Linked DNA regions of Homo sapiens: regions 1 and 3 are each linked to region 2. Evidence: promoter capture Hi-C in human tissues and cell types (Jung and others, 2019). All regions are on one chromosome and are shown on one strand. Each heading gives the region's core, a stretch centred on a gene start or on the middle of the fragment in contact. The rest is flanking DNA. Distances are from core to core; before and after follow the strand shown.

Region 1 (3,219 bases), core at 287-2,786, 57 kb before region 2:
TCTTAGTAAACACAAGAAAATCCATACAGGAGAGAAACACTTTGTATGTAATCAATGTGGAAAAGCTTTTAGCTTAAACTCAAAGCTTTCTCGACATCAGATAACTCACAATAAAAAGAAACCCTAAAAAAAGAGGAAGGTGAAGAAGGATATTTAGAGATGACTTACCCTTTGCTAAACTCGAGATCAATGTAGAAAGAATCTTAGTCGAAGCCTAATTCTTCGTGGATTCATGCTGTATGGAGTATCTTGGAAATATAAATATGTAAATGTTGAAGAAATGGAGATGTGATCAGAAATGTACTTTTTTTATTGCACTGACTTGAATCTTTGGCCAAGGCAGGTGGTTCATGAGGTCAAGAGTTCCAGACCAGCCTGGTCAACATAGTGAAACCCCATCTCTCCTAAACATAGAAAAAAAAAAATTAGCAGGGCGTGGTGGTGCACACCTGTAATCCCAGCTACTTGGGAGGCTGAGACAGGAGAATCACTTGAACCCCAGAGGCGGAAGTTGCAGTGAGCTGAGATCGTGCCATTGCACTCCAGCCTGGGTGACAGGGTGAGACTCTGTCTTTAGAAAAAAAAAAAAAAACTGTTAAATGTATTCAACTAAATTTGAAATTGGATAAGGCATTTCCTGTGGTAAGCAGTGATAAGCTAAGAGGCAGCTAGAAGGCTACAGTGAACATTCATTTTGCTGTTTGTCCATAATCTACTTTCACTGGATTAACAAATAGAGGCAGCTATCTAAAGATGCAAACTTTTATAGGCTAGATGATGCAACCCTAATTTAAGCGTAAGTAAGGAAAACAAAAGCCATCTCTTCTGGGTGAATTAGAAGTTTTGGAGAACTTTTGCTAGTAGACAGTGAAAAGCAAAAAGCTGATCATGGATCTGAACTAAAGGGTAAAGAGTTAGGAGGGGTAACATGAGAAATCCAAAGGTCTTGGGTCTGTGGTCAAGATGGTTTCTGCTGTCTTGTCTAAATGGTCGGGCGCAGTGGCTCACGCCTGTAATCCCAGCACTTTGGGAGACTGAGGTGGGTGGATCACTTGAGGTCAAGAGTTTGAGACCAGCCTGGCCAACATGGTGAAACCCTGTCTGTCCCATTAAGAAATAGCTCATTTGAAATAAGTGAAAGAAAATTGAATGAAGAGACTCTTTACAAAAGTGTGGAAAGGGTTGTGGGAAACCAACAAGGGATTTACCATCCCTAGCCCTGAAGGGAAAGCAGGAGCGTGGTGCCTTTGTAGTAAAAACACAAAAATTAGCATGGTATGGTGGCGTGCGCCTTTAATCCCAGCTACTAGGGAGGCTGAGGCATGAGAATCACTTGAACCCAGGAGGCAGAGGTTGCAGTGAGCAGAGATCATGCCACTGCACTCCAGCCTGGGTGACAGAGCGAGACTGTCTCAAAGCCAAAAAATAAGTGGATATAACTAAGACACCCAGCCTCCCTGAATAGTTTGCACCATTCTTATATGTTTCTAGAGAATCAAGAAGAAATGGAAAAATTGCAACAATTCTAGGCTTTAGATTCAGAATATGGAGAACCTATTACTGGGAATATTATGTTATTTGAAATTGATTTCTTGTTGTATGTCTTAAATGCTAAGCTTTCTAGTATATGCTAACACTAGCATGTAATACTGAATACATTTGAGCCTTGTATAGAAGTCGAATTACTTTCCCAAATTTGTTCTCATAAACGTCGGTGGCAACTTGCCTGTGTTTAGCCAAGTGGGATGGGCATAGTTAGGATTGGCCTCAATCCATAGACACTATTCAGTTTCTTCATGCTCTCACCTTTCTTTGCTTTCTCAGATATGACAGGAGCTGCCACAGAGCTCAAGTGTTGTATAATCCCCAGGTGTGCTTCCTTTCCATCTGCCTCATTACTTGTGTGTTGAGGCATCAGTACGTTTATATCTCTAAGGAAAGGTGTATGTGTATATATAGCTCACTTTTTACAAATAACAGACACATCAGTTTTATAGATCTCAAGTTAAATATAAGCCAAAAATGCAACTGAAATAATTTAGCTCAGTACAAAGAAAATATTGTTATGAATATTATAAAAATGGGAGTGGCTATTGGGATAAAGACAAAAATTATACATGGGACCTGTCATCCCTAATTTTGGTCCTTAATATCCTGGGTTAAAGTTAAACAGGAGCCATTTCATATGTTTCAAATACACGAAGACTTTCCAACACAGCTCCTATCAGGTCAAACTGCTAACTCTAAAGTCTAGAGTGAGAAAAGTTTCCTAGGACACACCAGAACAACTTGTTCTGAAAAGCCTCATATCCCAAATTCACCATCACTAAACTCAAAAATTTTTCATTGACATCTAACACTTTCTTCTTTGTATCTCTGCCATATTTCCTAGGCGCTGTCACTAATTCCTAAACCCAATGTCTCCAGTTTTGTAAAAAAGATAAAAGAATAGCCATCATGTAAATGTTAGGCTATTCATAACATTCTCATTGGAAAGTTTCAGCAGAAAGTTTTATATTTTCATTGGGGTTTTAATATTAAAATCACATAACAGTTCTATTGTTTAAGCAAAAATAACAGATGGAGAGAGAAGTTAAATACTTCAATTTAGGCTCAAAATATCATCTGCACACCAATGTAAATGATGCATCTTTTGCATTTAATAATTCCTTATATTTTCATTCTCACATATTTGAGGAGATATAAATCTAACAGAGCGTTTGTGGATTGAATGGAATCCCTCCCTAAAGGTATGTTGAGGTTTTAACTGCCGGTGCTCATTAATGTGACCCTATTTAAAACTAGGATCATTTTGAAGATGTAATCAAGATCAAATCATACTAGATTAGGGTGGGTCCTAAGTTCAATCACTGACTTCATAAGAGGGGACACAAGACAACTGGCTGTTGAATAAATGCTTTAACCCTTTTAAAGATTAAATTATCTCTGAAGATAACTTCCATAGAATGCAAAATTGGAGTCAGCACAGAATATGATCCATGTACCTCATATAAACAATACTAGCCAGTGATTTGATGCAGAGACCTATCTCTTATCCCCCACCTTTTGACCTAAAACATATCTGGCCTGGATAACTTTTAAATTATCATGGGGTATAAGAGTATTTTCTCCATTGTCAGGGAACCAATATGAGGATTCTGCCACTAAGTCTGTCTCCACTGTGCATTCTGGGACTGAGGAAATAACCATGGGATGCAC
Region 2 (3,276 bases), core at 183-2,682:
CATGTAAAGAAGTTTACACAGGGTCTGGCACAGAAGAGGGATCCTATAAAACTGCACCACTTGTTACTCTGATGATACTTATGTCAACGATGTAAATGTTTCACTCGAGTCTCCTCTGTGCCCAGGCTCTGTGCTGACCCCTGTGGACACAAAGATGAATTAAGTCCTGGTCCCACTAAAGGAGTTCACAGTCTAATTGAGGAGACTTAAATAGACCATTAGAGTTTAAGTTCATTAACAAAGAATTCTGAGCATAGTATGCCTGGGCCTGGACTGGGGTGGGATAGATGGAGAGTGACCCAGTTTTACCTGGGAGTCAGGAAGGCTCCCTGGAAGAGGTGACATTCCAGCTGGGGGTGGAAGGACAAGTGTCAGTTTGTGGGTGAAGAAGGGAGTTGGACATCCCTGACAGAAGGAACAGCGTGTGCAAAGGTCCTGTGCTCTGACCATCGGGAAATAGGGAGTTGGGAGAACCAGAACAGTGGGAAGCTGAGATGCAGTGAGGCCTGTGGGGCTGGAGTGAAGGTCACAACCTTGAAGCCCTAAAGGCTGAATCATATGCAAATGTGCCTTATTGTGGCCCACTCTGTGTGTGTGTGTGTGTGTGTAAGCTGCCCCCATTTGGAAATAAGGAAGTTTCACATTAAAATCTGGGTTTCCAGCTTTTCTTGAGAGATAAGAAGATCTGGGTTAGAGCTCCCACCTTTGCAACAGGTAGCTGGAGCTGAGTATCCACTACCCACCTTTGACAGGGGAGCAGCCCTGCAGACTGCATCCTGCTGATCAATGAACGGGTCCGTCTGCACACCCAGGTGGCCTTCCACAGGTGCAACCCCTTCCCAGCTCCCGAAGGCATTTGAATTTGGGACTAAACACCCCCTTCTACTATATAATTAATATTTGGAACACAGTAGCTTTTGGAATAATAGCTAATAATAAAAACAATTTTAAGGATTGAAAGCCAGTCCTAAGTCATATTGGATGACAATTCCTGCACGGGGTATTGAAAATGGCAAGGAAACTAGCTGCTGTTTAGTGAGTGCTTCCTCTGAGCCAAGCAGGTGCCAAGTACTAAGCATGTGTTTTCTCATTCAATTCTGGCAACAGTCTTGTAGATGTCATTATTACTTCCATTTCACAGATGGGGAACTGAGGCTCACAGAGAACTGAGGATTTGCCTAAGGTCACATAGCCAAGGAATGGCAGAGCTGAAGATTTGGGTTCATATCCATCACCCCCAATGGCTGACTGTTTTCTCACCTGTAGCCCTCAGTGTCCAAAGTCCCCAGACCTACCCGGTCTTGACAAGTTGCTCAGCTGCTCCTGGGTGGCCTGGCATGCTGTCCAAATGGCAGTGGTTTCAGGCGGGCGGTCGCTGGCAGCTGTGGCAGGTGGAGAGGAAGTGGGGGAATCGCTGGGACTTGGGAATCCCTGCCACTTCTGCTTTTCCACTCTTTAATGAAGCTCTCCTGGCTGCCTTGTCCCGCCCTTTTCGGGGCCCACCTCCCAGAGGGTTGGGCAAGCTGCCTCATCCTCTGCCCACAAGCAAGAGCGGGTGGAAGGTGTGGGAAGAGGAAAAGACAGCCTTTTCCAAGCGATGTCTCTAATCTTGGTAGCAGGAAGGTAGAATTAGCCCCATTTTACAGAGAAGGAAACTGAGGCACAGAGAAACCATACAGCTTCCCTTTCCCTCCCACTCCATAGTTGTGTGCCCCAAGGGGAGCCTGATCCCTGCTCTTGGGACTCACAGGTGATAATCAGACCCCTGCCAAGTACTGGGAGCAGTGGCTCTGGTCTCCTTCCCCAGCCCCCTTCCTGTCTTTAGCCTGACTTGTACCTCGCTTCAAATCTCAGCTCTGTCCCTCCCTAGCTATGAGACCTTGGGCAGGTGACCTCATATCTCTCTGCTGGTTTTCTCCCCTTAAAAAAAGTTTAATGAGGCTGGGCACAGTGGCTCACATCTGTAATCCCAGCACTCTGGGAGGCTGAGGGGGGTGGATCACCTGAGGTCAGGAGTTTGAGATCAGCCTGACCAACATGGTGAAACCCTGTCTCTACTAAAAATACAAAAATTATCTGGTTTGTGGTGGTGCATACCTGTAGTTCCAGATACTCGGGAGGCTGAGGCAGGAGAATCACTTGAACCTAGGAGACAAGGTTGCAGTGAGCTGAGATCACGTCACTGCACTCCAGCCTGGGCACAGAGCGAGACTCCGTCTCAAAAAAAAATAGTTAATGAAAATAACAGTTAACATTTATTGAGCACTTACTATGTATCAGGCATTCTTCTAAACAATTTCTCTTCAAATTCACTGAACACTTACTTTGAACATCCCTTTATGGTAAAGATGTTATTTTCATTCTTCAGCTCAGAAAACTGAGACTCAGAGAGCTACGTCGCCAACCACGCCACTCAGCTATTAATGGTACTGCCGTGATTTCTAACCAGCGGGCTGGCTTCAGGGTATACCAGTTAGCCACTGGGCTCTGCTGCTGTGGAGGGGATAATTCACAGACCTCGTGATTACTTCATAGTACAGCTGGTACTGCAAATAGTAGGTACTCAATAATGTAAATTCCCCACGCACACCCTCTGCAGTTAGTGCCCTGCAGGTCTGCTTTCAGGCTGTCCTGAAAGCCAGTTCCTACCTGGAATGCAGACACCTCTCCAGCATCTCTGTACCCCATCACTCCCAGCAGGCCTCCCCTGAGCCCCCCAGGCTCCCCCTCTGTGGGATGGACCAGTAGGGGCACAGCCACTTTCCCTTATAAGGACATGTTGCCTGGGTCACTCTCAGGCCTGAAGGGGAATGTCCTGCGGCCTGGATAGGGGAAGTGACGTTCTTATAGTTACACAGCGATTGAATGGAATACCTGTGGCCAGAACCCTCAGAGGGCCTAACACACTTCCCAGACAGTGCACCCCTGCAGGATGTTAGGCCAGCTACCAGGTCTGCAAAGAACTAAGTACATGAGGCAGACTAGCAGCAGCAAACTTGTGTACCCACAGGGGCCACGCTGCTTAGCTCATGAACAAAGCAGGATGAATGCAAATAGCAGTGAGCTACAAAGTGTAGCCCCCCCCACTCCCTCCTGTCTGGTCAGCTGTTATTCATCTCCAGTTGAGGGTCAAAGCCCCTTGAAAACGAGGCCCACCATGACCAGATTTTCCAGCTTTTCTAAAGACGCCAGTCATTCTCTTTTTAATGTAAATGTCAGCTTTTTTTTTTTTAAATGAAAGACTACCATGCAGACCAATCTTAACAGGTCTATGGG
Region 3 (3,048 bases), core at 196-2,695, 35 kb after region 2:
TGCCCTTAGTGAAAGAATAAACCAGTTTAACCTCCTGGGGCATTTGGCAACATGTTTCCAATTTTACATGTAAATACCCTTTGATCCAGTTATCCTCCTTCTAGGAATTTAACCTTGAGAAACAGTCGTACTTTTGTACACAGATTATGTGCAACGATGTTCATTACTGATAAGAGTAAAAAAAAATTGGAAGATTTTTGATAGACACATGTTTAAAGAAATTGTGTTCCATTCATATTATGAAGTACACTGCATCTGTTTAAAAAAAGATAAAAGATAACGTCAATCTATGTATTGACATAGAAACACAACCAAGACACCCTGTAAATTTTATTTTGAAAGTTTTGATTTGAAGCATTGAACACAATCCAATAAGGAATTGGTTAAATAAATCAAAGTGCTCCCATTCTGTAGAGTACTATGCAGTGTTTTAAAAGAATAAATTTGTGACCTGAGTCCAAGAAAATAAAATTAAAAAAAAAGAATGGAGTAAGTCCAAATGGCAAGTTGTCCATGATCATATTATTATATTTTACAGTCTTTTGTTATATGTATACATATTTGTATGTGTGTATGTATGAAGATATGTGTGCGTATCTGGAATGTCATACACCAAACTGCTCATGGTGATGATCTCTGGGCAGTGGGACATAAAGTGGATAAAGAGCCACTAACTTTTCCTTTTTCAATTCAGCATTGTTTGAATTTTTATGAGTATGCATAACTTTTGAAATTCAATACAAAATTAAAAAGCGGATTACAAATAATATGTTGACGTGATCACATTTCTGTTAAAAAAATCTTCTTTTAATAGGGTTCTAAAAGCCAATTGGCATATGTTTCATTGAGGTATAATTAACATGCAATAAAATGCACCCATTTTAAGGGTATAGTTTAACAAGTCTTGACAAATGTATGCAGTCCGATAACAGCGTGATCACAATGTAGAACAGTTCTCAGATAGGCATTGTTTAAAAGTCAGGAAAGATGTATATCAGAATTAGAGACTGAGATTTAGCTGATCTTCACATTTTCTGTATTGTTGAAATGCTTATAATGCCCATTTTGCATCTGAAAAAAATAAAGCATCTACATTTTAGAAAAATAAAAAAATGGTAAGAGCAACAAGAGCTTCATGGCTTCATGAAATTATATTGTTTCTTGCTTATAACAACCTTCAGGAGATCAGAATTTATGTCACCCATTTTACCAGGGAAGAGGTTGAGGCCCAGAAGGTGAGATATCTGGATTGTGCACTGCCCAGTATGGTAGCCACAAGCCACATGTGGGCTAGTGGGCACTTGAAATGTGGCAAGACCAAACTGACATGTGCTTTAAATGTAAAGCACACACCAGATTTTGATGATTTCACATGAAAAAAAGAATGCAAAATATCTCACTAATAATTTATACATAAAATATATTATTCATATTAGTTTCATCTGTTTTTCACTTTTTTAATATAGCTACCAAAAAATTTAAAATACATATGTGGCTCACATTATATCTCTCTTGGATGGGGCTAACTGAAATAATCAGATTTCACCAAATCCAGCAGATACATCTCTATTTAATCATGTTCCCACTCACACCAGAATTTGACACAGTGCCCACTCACGCTTCTTAAAACACTCCCCTCTCTTGGCTTTTGCTGGTCCATAGCTCTAAGTTTTCCTTCTACCTCACTCACCATCTCTCTGTTTCTCTGGTAAATTCATTTTCCTTTCCCCAGCTCCCAAGTGCTGGGGTTCCTCATGGTCTATACTCTACTTAAACACTTTCCATAGCTGAGCCCATTGATTCCTACGGATTTAACTCCCAAATTTATACAATGACTCCCAGATTTATGTCTGCAACCTAAACATCTCCTCTAAGCTCCAGTCTTGCATATCTAACTGCCTATTGAGCTTGACAAGTCTAAACCAAGTCCAAAATAGAATTATGAATAAGCCATTCCCAGCCCCCTAAAAAATATTCTTCTCCAATTAACCACCATCCATGCAGGTACTCCTTTCATTCACACCCCCCAATCCAACCCAGCACAAGTCCCACATTTAACTTTGAATGATATCTTGACTGCTACATTGCCATTGCTACCACCCTCACTCAAGCCATCCCCCAGACCAGGGGTCAGCAAATGTCTCCTGTAAAAAGCCACACAGTAAGTATTTTGGCTTTGCAGGCCACATGGTGTTTGTCTGGACTCACATTTGACATTGGAGTATGAAAGCAGCCATAGACAATATGTAATTGAATAGGTGTGGCTGTGTGTCAATAAAACTTTATTTGCAGACACTGAAATTTGAATTTCATATAATTTTCGTGTATTACAAGACGTTGTCTTTTGATTTTTCCGCAGCCATTTAAAAAATGTAAAAATCATTCAAAATCAAATGGCGGGCCAGATTTGGCCCAAAAAGACACGGGCCATCTAGATGATGTTATAGCTCCTAACTATTCTCCTCGTCTATATTTTTGCCCCCACTACCCATTTCCTAATGAATATAGCTAACAACTATTGAGTTCTTTTTATGAGCCATTTTAATCACTTGACATGTATTAACTCATTTACCTTTACAACAAGTCAATGAAAAACGTACTAGTATAATATCATTTTACAGATTAGGAAACTGAGGCACAGAGAGGTTGAGTACCTTACAACCCTCCAATGGCTGCCCACTGCTCACAGAAAAAAAACAAACCAAAATGCATAACATGCCCGAAAAGACACTCTGATCTGGCCCTCCCCTACCTTTCCTCACCCGCTTTCCTTCCTTCCCACCAGGCCTCGCTCCCACTGGGCTTTTCTCATTTTCTCAAACATGCTACGTTTGTTCTGACTCAGGCTTCAGTAGACATTCCCAGGGCATCTCCACTGCTTTCATCTGCAGTCTTCCTAAGCTTTGGCTCTTCCCAGAACTGTCCAAAGTCAATGCCCCTGCTCTATTATTTTATAGCATAACCCTCTCAGTCTTTCCTTCATAGCACTCATTGCAATGCAGTTGTTTTGTTGTCTAACTACTTGCTTTTGTCTGTGTCCCAGCATCC

Evidence for each region. The method cuts DNA at HindIII sites, captures the fragments that hold promoters and counts their contacts. A contact is called where the count stands out against the background at its distance.
Region 1: a fragment that was not itself captured here is called in contact with the fragment with the promoter of OCSTAMP in region 2 in 2 of the 25 tissues and cell types used here (dorsolateral prefrontal cortex and thymus).
Region 3: a fragment that was not itself captured here is called in contact with the fragment with the promoter of OCSTAMP in region 2 in 2 of the 25 tissues and cell types used here (lymphoblastoid cells and thymus).

Annotation. Positions count from the first base shown.
Region 1 is chr20:46,492,514-46,495,732 of GRCh38, forward strand. It overlaps a transcript of ZNF334 not described here. Among named protein-coding and RNA genes, the nearest start is that of ZNF334, 19 kb to the right of the region's middle. The HindIII fragment of the contact is 6,670 bases long and covers 1-3,219 here.
Region 2 is chr20:46,549,222-46,552,497 of GRCh38, forward strand. OCSTAMP (osteoclast stimulatory transmembrane protein) reads right to left here and starts at 1,433. Exons shown (of 3, transcript NM_080721.3): 1 at 1,296-1,433. The coding sequence starts at 1,339. The HindIII fragment of the contact is 9,290 bases long and covers 1-3,276 here.
Region 3 is chr20:46,584,673-46,587,720 of GRCh38, forward strand. The region is part of intron 8 of SLC13A3 (solute carrier family 13 member 3); the gene reads right to left. Among named protein-coding and RNA genes, the nearest start is that of OCSTAMP, 36 kb to the left of the region's middle. The HindIII fragment of the contact is 6,883 bases long and covers 1-3,048 here.